Regions from separate parts of the Homo sapiens genome. Here all the other regions are linked to region 3. Evidence: promoter capture Hi-C in 16 types of primary human blood cells and fetal thymus (Javierre and others, 2016). All regions are on one chromosome and are shown on one strand. Each heading gives the region's core, a stretch centred on a gene start or on the middle of the fragment in contact. The rest is flanking DNA. Distances are from core to core; before and after follow the strand shown. Region 1 has its middle 190 kb from the start of BMP7-AS1. Region 2 has its middle 250 kb from the start of BMP7-AS1. Region 3 holds the start of FAM209B (family with sequence similarity 209 member B). Region 4 has its middle 220 kb from the start of BMP7-AS1.

Evidence for each region. The method cuts DNA at HindIII sites, captures the fragments that hold promoters and counts their contacts. A CHiCAGO score of 5 or more calls a contact.
Region 1: a contact is called between a fragment that was not itself captured here and the fragment with the promoter of FAM209B in region 3, in 1 of 17 cell types (M0 macrophages). The highest score is 5.4, in M0 macrophages.
Region 2: a fragment that was not itself captured here is called in contact with the fragment with the promoter of FAM209B in region 3 in 1 of 17 cell types (erythroblasts); the score reaches 5.2 in erythroblasts.
Region 4: a fragment that was not itself captured here is called in contact with the fragment with the promoter of FAM209B in region 3 in 2 of 17 cell types (fetal thymus and M1 macrophages); the score reaches 5.8 in fetal thymus.

Annotation. Positions count from the first base shown.
Region 1 is chr20:57,022,748-57,025,462 of GRCh38, forward strand. No RefSeq gene overlaps it. Among named protein-coding and RNA genes, the nearest start is that of BMP7-AS1, 190 kb to the right of the region's middle. The HindIII fragment of the contact is 2,231 bases long and covers 337-2,567 here.
Region 2 is chr20:56,960,995-56,963,777 of GRCh38, forward strand. No RefSeq gene overlaps it. Among named protein-coding and RNA genes, the nearest start is that of BMP7-AS1, 250 kb to the right of the region's middle. The HindIII fragment of the contact is 2,659 bases long and covers 198-2,783 here.
Region 3 is chr20:56,531,830-56,534,706 of GRCh38, forward strand. FAM209B (family with sequence similarity 209 member B) reads left to right here and starts at 1,417. Exons shown (of 2, transcript NM_001013646.4): 1 at 1,417-1,761. The coding sequence starts at 1,513. It also overlaps a transcript of FAM209A not described here. The HindIII fragment of the contact is 5,101 bases long and covers 1-2,877 here.
Region 4 is chr20:56,993,773-56,996,508 of GRCh38, forward strand. No RefSeq gene overlaps it. Among named protein-coding and RNA genes, the nearest start is that of BMP7-AS1, 220 kb to the right of the region's middle. RefSeq lists an enhancer at 1,674-2,202. The HindIII fragment of the contact is 3,092 bases long and covers 1-2,736 here.

The DNA of each region.
Region 1 (2,715 bases), core at 202-2,701, 490 kb after region 3:
AAGAAAGAGTGTTCTGCCAAAAATTTATTTGCCATTTCTACCAGTTGGAGCCCCAGCTTCGTCCCCTGTCTCCCTCTCCTGGCTCTTCCCCGCCAGCTTTGTTTCTAAAACAGTTAAATCTAGCTAAGCCTAATCAATTCAAGTGTCTTGTCTTTCTGACACTTTCTTTGGGTACTGGCCTCTTCATCCTTGAATATTTATTGGGGTATTTTCCTAATTCCCAATTATCTACCCTAGAAAAATTCTGACACACCTGCTGGGTTGAGAGAATTTTTCATTCTTCCACATCAGGGGTTGGGGAACTGTTCTGTAATGGGTCATGCAGCAGGCATTTTAAGCTTGTGGTCCATAGAGTCTCACTCCAGCCGGTCAACACGTGCTGCCTTTGTAGGATGAATGCAACTATAAACAATATGGAAATGAATGGATGAGTCTATGTTCCAATAAAACTTTATTTATAAAAACAGGCTGCTGGCCCAGGGGCTAGAGTTTGCAGATCCTTGTTGTACATAATCAGCTACTTAGCTGAGGGGCATGGAAACCACTGAATCACCAGACAGGCCTCTCCTGGACTCCCATGGGGTGCCTCCTACTAGGTGCTGTGGGAGGGTAGAGAACATTTCTTAGAAGTCTGTTCACAATGACCCTGGCTTTGAAGCTGGGATAAGGTAAAGCCAGTGCCCACTTGTGTAGTGGGCTGAACAGTTTCCCTGCAAAATGCATGTCCATCTGCAACCTCAGAATATGGCCTGATTTGGAAATAGGATCGCTGCAGATGTAGATAAGGTAAAGATCAACATGAGATTATACTGGATTTGGGTGGTCTCTAAATCCAATGAGGGTGATCTTCTATAAGACCAAAAAGGACACACAGTGAGACAGAGAAAAGAAGGCCATGTGAAGGCTGAGGCACAGATGGGTATGAGGCGGCCACAAGCCAAGGAATGCCAGGAGCTACTGGGAGCTGGAGGAGGCCAGGAACAGATTCTCCCCTGGAGCCTTCAGAGGGACCGCAGCCCTGCCGACACCTTGCTTTTGGACTTCTGGCCCCAGAAAACGCGGAGAGAGAATCCATTTCTGTTGTCTTAACCCACCCAGTTTGTGGTCATTTGTTACAGAAACCCTGGGAAACCAATATGGCACGTGGGTATTGAAAATTGCCCAGTGTAATTCAGTTGAGTTCCCTTGAAAAGGAGAAGCAAAGATCTCCTCATGTGGATGTGTCAGTTCAGTGTGTTTTGGCCTCATAGGAACCATGAATCCGAGATAACGCTGTAGGGGTTTCAACTCCCTGGCGGTGGAACTCTGTTGATTTCTACTCTTGTTAAACGACTCTTTCGCAGTAATATGAAGCAATTTGGCCAATAGTCAGCCAACTTGCCCCCGTCTTAAGGGTAAGTAAGCCAGTGAGAAGGGGGCCCCTGGCTCTGACGTCACAGCCCAATGGGAGGGGGCCAATCAGAAGCAGGATCTCTGGCTGGACCATGAGAGGAGGGAAAGTGTGGGTCTTATGATGCTTCCGCAGATGGTGTTGATGCCCAGAGCCCCGGCTTGCTCCAATCAGTTACTGGAGGAGAAAACTCCAAGTTGTTGACATGGAGACTTCAGACAGCCAAATCATGATCTAAAAGTGCAGGTACTGATGTGGATGGAAAATTCAGGGCCTTGGAGTCTGGGTTAAAATTATCCTTCCTTCAACTCAGTGCTACCTCAACCACAGGGAACGGAGGAGATGCATTTTCCCAAAGGAAGGATGCTGGACGGACAGCATGCATCCATTACAAGGTGGAAACCATCGACACAGAAAGGGAAGGGCTAGGAGTAGATCATGCTTTTTATAGCCCCCTGACCCCATGACAAACCCCTTCACACATTCCAACACACAAGCCTTTATTCACCCTGATTACCTCTAGCTTTGGACAGAGGGCAGGCCTTCACTGTGGCTGCACACAGGACCCAGTGTTTGTAACTGGGCTGCGAAATTCTTCACGTGGTATAAATCACCAGGGTTTAGTGGGTGCAAGCAACAGAAACTGACCAGCTGATGTAAGGAAAAGGGAATTTATTGGCAGGACACAGGGAACTCACAGGACTCTGTGAGCTCTTTAATGATGGCATCTGCCATCTCTTTTGCGAGTCAAGAGGAGACCTTGCTGTTCTCCTGGTGAGTGGTCCCATCATCAGTGAGCTCTCTGGAACTTAATTTTCCCCTTACATGTAGTGTGTGGTTGTGGCCTCAGAGTTATGCATTGTGGGTTCACACTGCAAGGACGATAGTACTTGTTGCTTTTAGAGAGCCTCCCATCTGTTGCCCTCGGGTCATTGCCAATGTTGATAAAATCTCCCCAGAAAAGCCCAGGAAATGCTATTATTATACCACAGGCCTGGACCAAGGCAGAAGCAGGGCCTCCAAGCTGGCCTGGGTGATCTCTGCATGGTTCTGGGCTACCTTATGTTGAGATAGTTGAGTCCGTGTCTTCAACTACCAGGATCCTGGCAGAGCGTGGGCAATTATGACTTTTTGCCCAATTATATAATCTCCCTGGGGTGGGGAGTATGACCCCAAAAGCTTCCAAGACACCCTCAATGAAACCTTGGAGGGAATCTGTAACATTTGTTCCAACTTACCAGTGCTTTCCCGGGGCTCCTCAAGGACCTCATGGTCTGACTACTTTTTCCATGTAACTTTCAAAACACCTTTGCTAAAACAAACAG
Region 2 (2,783 bases), core at 277-2,776, 430 kb after region 3:
CTGGAATTTCAAGATAATGTTGTCGATTTGATCACAATGGGAACCTCCAATCTTTGCAATGGTTATTCAAATGGATAACACTCTGAACATCTATTTTTTTAAAAAAAACTAAATGAGATGAAATTATAGAAATAGCTAAATCATGCATATGGGTGCAACATTTCAAAGGCAAAGAAAAAGTTATAATGAGGGAAGTAAGCTTCCCTCCCTGCTCCTGTACACCCAGAGGCAACCACTGTTACTATTGGGGTAACCCACATGACATTTCAATATTTACTTGTTTTCCACCAACAAAAATGGCAGTTTCACTGGATGCAGTGGCTCACACCTATCATCCCAGGATGGCTTGAGCCCAGGAGTTTGAGACCAGCCTGGGCAACATAGGGAGACCTCATCTCCACAAAAGCACAAAAATTAGCCAGATATGGTGGTACACCATTAGTCTCAGCTACTCAGGAGGCTGAGATGGGAGGATCACTTGAGCCTGGGCAGTCAAGGCTGCAGTGAGCCATAATTGTACCACTTCACTCCAGTCTAGGTGACAGAGTAGGAACCTGTCCAAAAAAAAAAATGACAGTTTCATATGATTCAGTCTGTTACTCCCAGTTTCTCATTTTCTCAGATACTCTGTGTGTATAAATACACACTTAGACAGAATCTTTCTGTTTTCTTTTTTATATAAATTACAGCAAATTATACACACTGTTTTTCATCTTGCTTATTTCACTTAACAATGTATCTTGAAGGTAGCTCCATTTTAGTATTTAAAGAAGAGCTTCATTCTCTTTTTAACAGCCACGGAATATTCTGTTGAATGGATGTGTCACGATCTATTTAGCCAGCCCCCAGTGATGGACAATTAGATTGTTTTCAGTCTCTTTCTACCAAAAACAATGCTGCAATGCCTATCTTTGTACACACATTATGTCTCACAAGTGGGAGTATGTTTGCGGGATAATAAGTTATTCAAGGTGGAATTGCTGGGCCAAAGGATGTGTGTCTTTTTCATTAGGAAATCTATTGCCTAATTGTCCTCCATAGACGTTGCGTCAATTCATACCCTGAGTAGACTGACAGGTCCAGCTTGACACTGTGCCTGATTTTAAGGTCCACAGAGCAATGAATGTTCTCCACGGCTCTGAGATGAGTGGCACTACCGGGGCAGTCTGGGAAATGTGGAGTGTCTAGATAACGTGCCAAGTTTGGCTCTGTCTCCTCCAAAAGGCAGATAAGGATAGGGAAGTCTCCTCTGCAAAGCAGTCTCTTAGCCTGGAAGGTTGTGGCTGGGAAAAGGAAAGGAGGGGTGTCTCCATGTATTGGAGATGAAAGAGGGAAGTTAGGCCCTAAGACCCTCTGGACTCTCTTCTGCTCCCAACCTAGGAAGGGCTGTCACCCCAGAGGCTGTTCAACCTCAGGTGCCCACTTCACAAGCATTAGGTAAAAGACACTGTTGACACAGTATGTGGCTAATGTGTGTGCCACAGATTGATCATCATCAGGTGGCACGAGTTTCTGGTCTACCAGCGTGCTCTGGCAAACCAGTTGACCATCATTAGGCTAGGGATGGACAAGCCAGTGGCTGGTCTTGGGAAGCAGTTTAGCATGTTTCAATATGTTCTTAATTTCTTTAACATTCTCCCTTCAGAAGGTGAAAATGGATTCCCTCCCCTTCAATGTGGGACAGGCTGGATGGTGAAATAATCATCTGTGACTTGCAAGACTGACTCATGCAAGGCAATACAGCTTCTGCTGGCTCTCTCCTTCTTGGATTGCCCATTGTGGGAAAAGCCAGCTGCCATGTTGTAAGGACACTTAAGCAGCCTGTAGAGGGGCCCACATGGGGAGGAAGTGAAGCTCCTCACCAACCAGCAGCACCAAATTGTCAGTCACCTTGGACATCACCTTGGAAGTGGATCCTCCAGCCCCAGTCAAGCCTTCAGATGACTGTGGCTTTGGTCAACTTCGTGACTACAACCTCATGAGAGACCCTGAGTCAGAACTGGTCAGCAAAAGGGCTCCTGTATTTCTAACTCATAGAAACTGGAAGAATATACATGTTTATTGCTGTTTTAGGACACTAAGTTCTGGATAATTTATTGCCCAGTAATAAGTAACCATACATATGGCCAGGTTGATCAACTTGTGATGAGCCTGTTCTATCTGCTTCTTTGCCTCTACTTCATGTCTCCCAGCCTTGCGAGGAGGGAGAGATCCTCTTCAAATGACATGGAAGAGCAGATTCTACATCTTCTATGAGGTCAACATGAAGGAAATGTAGCCCATTACGAGAGGTCAAGAAGGATCCTGAATGTTCCTCTTCACCTTCACTGCTACCCTGTCACTGCAGGGTGTGGGAGCATTTCATAAGCTCCCTTACCCTCAGCTGTGTCATCTGAAAAATGGGGTGATAACCAAAGATGTAGTGTGGGCCCAGATAAGCTCTTCAAGTCCCTTAAAGCATTGAGCACCAGCTTTTATACATTTTAATTCATTCACGCATCAATCATCCATTTATCCACTCAGCAAATTTATGCTAAATGCCTACAATGTTTTAGGTACCATGAGAGGTGCTAGGGATATGAAAGAGAGCAAATCAATATCCCTGTTATCAAGGGGATCCCAGTCCAATGGGAGAGAAGATGGAGAGATGGACCAGTAACACATGATGTAATACAACTGTGCCAGGGCTGAATGATTACAGTAAGGAGAGCGGCCCCCTCCCAGGGTGGAGGAGCAGAGACATACAGACTGTGACTCCTGAGTGGGCCCTAAGACCCCTGCCC
Region 3 (2,877 bases), core at 167-2,666:
TAGCCAGATTGGTCTGGAACTCCTCCTGACCTCAGGTGATCTGCCCACCCTGGCCTCCCAAAGTGCTGGGATTACAGGTGTGAGCCCCTGCCCCTGTGCCTGGCCCAATGTATACTCTTTTTTTCTTTTCTTTTCTTTTCTTTTCTTTTTTTTTTTTTTTTTTGAGACTGAGCCCTGCTCTGTTGCCCAGACTGGAGTGCAGTGGCGCCATCTAAGCTCACTGTAACCTCTACTTCCTGGGTTCAAGTGATTCTCCCGTCTCAGCCTCCCAAGTAGCTGGGATTACAGGCACATGCCACCATGCCTGGCTAATTTGTGTATTTTTAGTAGAGATAGGGTTTCACCATGTTGGCCAGGCTGGTCTCAAACTTCTGACCTTGGGTGATCTGCCTACCTTGGCCTCCCAAAGTGCTGGGATTACAAGTGTGAGCCACCAGGCCTGGCTCCAAAGTATACTCTTAACCCAAGGCAGGCACACACTGCTGCTGTCAATGATGGTATGTGGTAATAGGGAGTGGTGGGGACTGTGGAGGGAATATGGCCACAGGATGGATGATTTCACTTGGCTCTAGCAGAAGACTGGTTCTATGACAGTGTGGGCCCAGTGCTTCCAGAACTCTTCATATTTTCTTTTCTTTCTTTTTCTTTTTCTTTTTTTTTTTTTTTTTTTTTTGAGACAGAGTCTTGCTCTGTTGCCAGGCTGGAGTGCAGTGGCGTGATCTCGGCTCATCACAACCTCTGCCTCCTGGGTTCAAGTGATTCTCCTGTCTCAGCCTCCCAAGTAGCTGAGACTACAGGCGTGTGCCACCACATCCAGCTAATTTTTGTATTTTTAGTAAAGACGGGGTTTCACCACGTTGGACAGGATGGTCTCGATCTCTTGACCTCGTAATCTGCCCGCCTCAGCCTCCCAAAGTGCTGGGATTACAGGCGTGAGCTGCCGCGCCCGGCCACGCTCTCATATTTTCAAAGGAAGCCGGAAACCTGGACTTTTAAAGTGAAATACCCACCCCCCACAACATTTAAGTACTGACTAATAATTTTTAGAAACAACATAGGCCAAACAAAACACATAGGTGGCTCCGAGTTTGTAGGTAGCCTGTGGTTTAATATCTTTCTCTCCCATTTAACTCAGCTCCACGGGGCACATGGCATCTCCCTCTGCTCATCATAGTGTTTGGATCAAACAAATGAAAAACAGAAACATGACGGCCTCTACCAGCAAAAGCTCGAGGGTTGGAAAGAGTCCCCTGGCAGGGAATTGGCACCCCGTCGTGCCTATCCTCTCTCTCTGACTGCCTGCTGGAAATGCCCCCATCTCCCTTTGAGTCCTCCTCCCGGGCGACTCCTGTGACCTGTAACCTCTGTCCTGAAATCATCACAATGGCCAGGGTGGCCTCAGCTCAGGGCCTCTGTGACATCACCAAGGGCCTGGCACCAGGTGCCCAGTCTTCCAGTTGCGAGGGCAAGCAAACCCGTCATGAGCAACTCCCTTCCCCATCTCTGCTCACCATGTGGACGCTGAAATCGTCCCTGGTCCTGCTTCTGTGCCTCACCTGCAGCTATGCCTTTATGTTCTCTTCTCTGAGACAGAAAACTAGCGAACCCCAGGGGAAGGTGCCGTGTGGAGAGCACTTTCGGATTCGGCAGAACCTACCAGAGCACACCCAAGGCTGGCTTGGGAGCAAATGGCTCTGGCTTTTGTTTGCTGTTGTGCCGTTTGTGATACTGCAGTGTCAAAGAGACAGTGAGAAGAATAAGGTAAGGATGGCTCCATTTTTTTTACACCATATTGATTCAATCTCAGGAGTCTCAGGGAAACGGATGTTCTAGTGAGTCTAGGCGGCACCGTTGGGTATAATGAACCGACCTCATGGTCCTGGGCAAAGCTGGCAAATTCACTTCCTGATGTATCCTTAGTGAAGACAATAGTCCCCACATCCACAGATATTGGGACAAACAGTGGAAGATGACCTCTAGTTTCTTGGCTCAAAGTTCTTCTGGTTAGATGGATTTTTTCAAATGTAGGATAGATTCAAGAACTCAGCCGGGCGCAGTGGTTCATGCTGTAATCCCATCACTTTGGGAGGCCAGGGCAGGTGGATTGCCTGAGGTCGGGAGTTTGAGAACAGCCTGGCCAACACGGTGAAACCCCATCTCTACTAAAAATACAAAAATTAGCTGGGCATGGCGGCGTGTGTCTGTAATCCCAGCTACTCGGGAGGCTGAGGCAGAAGAATGGCTTGAACCCTGGAGGCAGAGGTTGTGGTGAGCTGAGATCACACTACTGCACTCCTGCATGGGCGACTGAGACTCTGTCTCAAAATAAAGAACTTATGGTGTGTTTTAGAAGGTCAAAATTATATTATTCACAGGGCCAAATTCACTGTTCCCTTGCTTTTTACATTTTTCCTAGTGCTTGACTTACTGAAAATTCCTGAGCTAAATGGAAATGATATCATCCCAACAAAATATGAAACTTCTGTAAGGAGATAAAGGTGTAGGCCGGGCACAGTGGCTCATGCCTGTAATCCCAGAACTTTGGGAGGCCGAGACGGGCAGATCACTTGAGGTCAGGAGATTGAGACCAGCCTGGCCAACATGGTGAAACCTCGTCTTTACTAAAAATACAGAAATTAGGCCAGGCGCGGTGGCTCACCCCTGTAATCCTAGCACTTTGGGAGGCTGAGGCGGGTGAATCACGAGGTCAGGAGTTCGAGACCAGCTGGGCAACATGGTGAAACCCTGTCTCTACTAAAAATACAAAACCTAGCTGGGCGTAGTGGCGGGCGCCTGTAATCCCAGCTACTCGGGAGGCTGAGGCAGGAGAATCACTTGAACCCTGGAGGCAGAGGTGGTAGTGAGCCGAGATGGAGC
Region 4 (2,736 bases), core at 17-2,516, 460 kb after region 3:
CAGTTCACTGTGCACCAGGCACTGCACGTGGCTTGTCTCACTCCTCTTCATAACCCCATGAGACAGACCATTGTCAGGCCTATTGACAGGTTAGGAAATTGAGACTCAGAGAAGCTAACTTGCCCTAGGCCACCTCTCTTGTCAGTAGCAGAGCCAGGACTTGAACTGAGGACTGCTGACTCCAGAGCCCCATCCCATGTTCTGCTCTCAACACATAACACTCATGGAACAAAACGAGTTATTTAGAAAATACCAGTCAATGCGGTTCTTGGAACCTCACCCTGGTCTGTGACCCCAGAACCAACATGTGCCCCTGCCCCTCTCTGACCTCCCTGGCAGCCAGCCTTCCTAAAGTGACAGGCGGTCTTCTGCCCTCTCCACCTCCTGTGGAGCCAGAAGCCTGGTGCCCTCTCTCTTGGTCTGTGTCCAAGTAAGGAAGAGCAGCCACGTCACGGATGCTGGGCAAACATCAGCAGCAAGGGCTGCCCAGACTCGGGGAGGAAGACCCGCTTCTAAGCTGCTCTAGTGTAGTGTGAATACTCCATAAACTTCCCAGCTGTCTTCCACCCACCCAGGGTTCCCTCGCCAACAGGATCCCTCCACCCAGGGCCCTGAGGGAGGCTCTTGGGAAGTCTTTGAAAGCTGGAAGGAGCTTTTCCTGAAAGAAGAGGTTTGGCTAGTCTGGTCTCTTGTCTTTTAAACTGCCCTGCAAGGACAGAAAAAGTCCTTGGACTTCTCATTGCAAAATCTCAATCCACCGCCTCCTAGGTTGGCAGGAGTTGCTGCTGGGGAGAGGGAGTGAGGCATGCTGGGAAGAATGTGGAAGGTGAAGTCCAACAGGCCTGAGTTCAAATCCCAGCTTTACCTTTTTCCAGCTGTGTGACCTTGGGCCTCAGTTTCCCCATCTGCAAAGTGAGGATAATGCTTGCACCTACCTCACAGAGTCACTGGGAAGGTTTAATCAGATTATGCATAAGGAGGCATTCATTCTATCTTTAAAAAATATTTACGAAACACTTAATATGTGCAGGAACAGTTCTAGGTGCTAGGACTACAACCGTGAGAAAAACGCCTTGCAAAGCTCACATTCTAGAGGAGGAGACAGATAATACCAGCACCTGCGATGCAGTAAATGCTCAGTGATTCTTAGCCACAGGCAGAAACAGGTTGCTTGGGGGACCCCTCTTCTGGTTAGTGGGGAGGTCTCAGAGAAAGGAGGTGATCAGCTAGCTGGAGACCCCAGAAAGCATCTCCGACAAGAGGAAGCATCTAAGGTCAAAGAACAGCTGGGTGGCTGATTGGTGACATTGACAGCATTCTACTTTCTGAAGCTATAGGAAGATAAATCAACTCTATGGGAGCTGGCTCTGGCCTCCTCCAGGGGGTTGGAGGTAGTCACAGTAGAGGGGCTCCTCTAAATTCTCAGAAAGCCATTCTGGGTAACTCAGCACCCATGGCTGTGGCCTCCTGGGAGAGGCAGAGATAGAGTCAAGACGTCTGCTCCCCGGCCTGCCCTTTCACTCCCATCTCCTCCACCCTTCACAGGCGCCGCTCTCAGTCTGGGCCCCTCTGCAACACCTGGAGATGGGCCAGCTGTGGAGCAAGCATCTGCTCCTTAATCCGCCCCCAGGGTTTGGCCTGCTGGAGGTGCGGCAGCACCCAAGGGTGAGTGGTTCCGGAAAGGAAGAGACAGCCCTTTGGACACGTTCACGAGTTTGTTCATTTATTCAGTGATTAGACATTGTTTGGAGCATCTATTGCAAACCAGGCACTGGGGGTGTGGGGCTGTGGGGTCGCCACTAGCTCGGCAGAGGGGGGAAAATGGTACATTTTAGAATCACAAAAAAATAGCTTCAAATAGTACATAATACCATCTCCTCAGGTCCTGAGACCCTCACCTTGAGCCCACGTGTTCCCTGCCGCTGGGGTTCAGCAAATGGCAGCGCTTTCATCAAGGTAGAAAAGAAAAACAACAAAAAAGTCAGAGCACCTCACCTGTGCCACCTGGTGGCGGGATCTGTCCGCACTGCAGCCCAGCAGCTTGCCTCCCGCCACCCACCGCCCCAGGAGGCTAACCCTGCCTGGTGGCTCTGGGACTGGGTGTGAGGAAGGCTCCTGAGGCCTGTCTGGCCTCCAGGATCTGGGTGAAGCCAGAGAAGCAGGCTCCGAATCACCCCAGCCTTTGCAAAGCCTTAGGAGTCAAGTTGCTGCATATGGGAAGCCTGGGGCTCCGGTAACAGCTCAGCAAGGCTGCGACAGCCCCGGGCCAGGACTCAGGGCGAAACAACCCTGTTGCTGGCTCCCTGGCTTGGGACAATTTCTAGTTTCCCGAGTCTCAGCTTGGTCTCCGATGGGGAAAGTGTCCCTTCCTCTCAAAGGTCCATTAGCCCAGGGTGCCTTGATTCAGTGAGGAGGGGTCTGGACTAGATTAGGGACACAGAATAAGGAAAATTCCCATATCCCCATTACCAAGAACTCCTACTGCAGGAGAGTACAGCGTGGTGTGACAATCAGGGACTCGGGACCAAGAGGCCTGTAACCGACTGCTATCCGGCCTCTACCTGTGTGGCTTGGGCAAATTGCTTCACCTCCCAGGGCGTCTTTATTTATGAAAGAGAATAAATGTATCCTGATTATAGTGTTGTTGCAAGGAGTAAGCAGGAGGATGTAGCCAAAGCACTTAACACAGTGTTTGGCAAGAACTGTTCAATAAATAAATAATTACTATTGTTATTA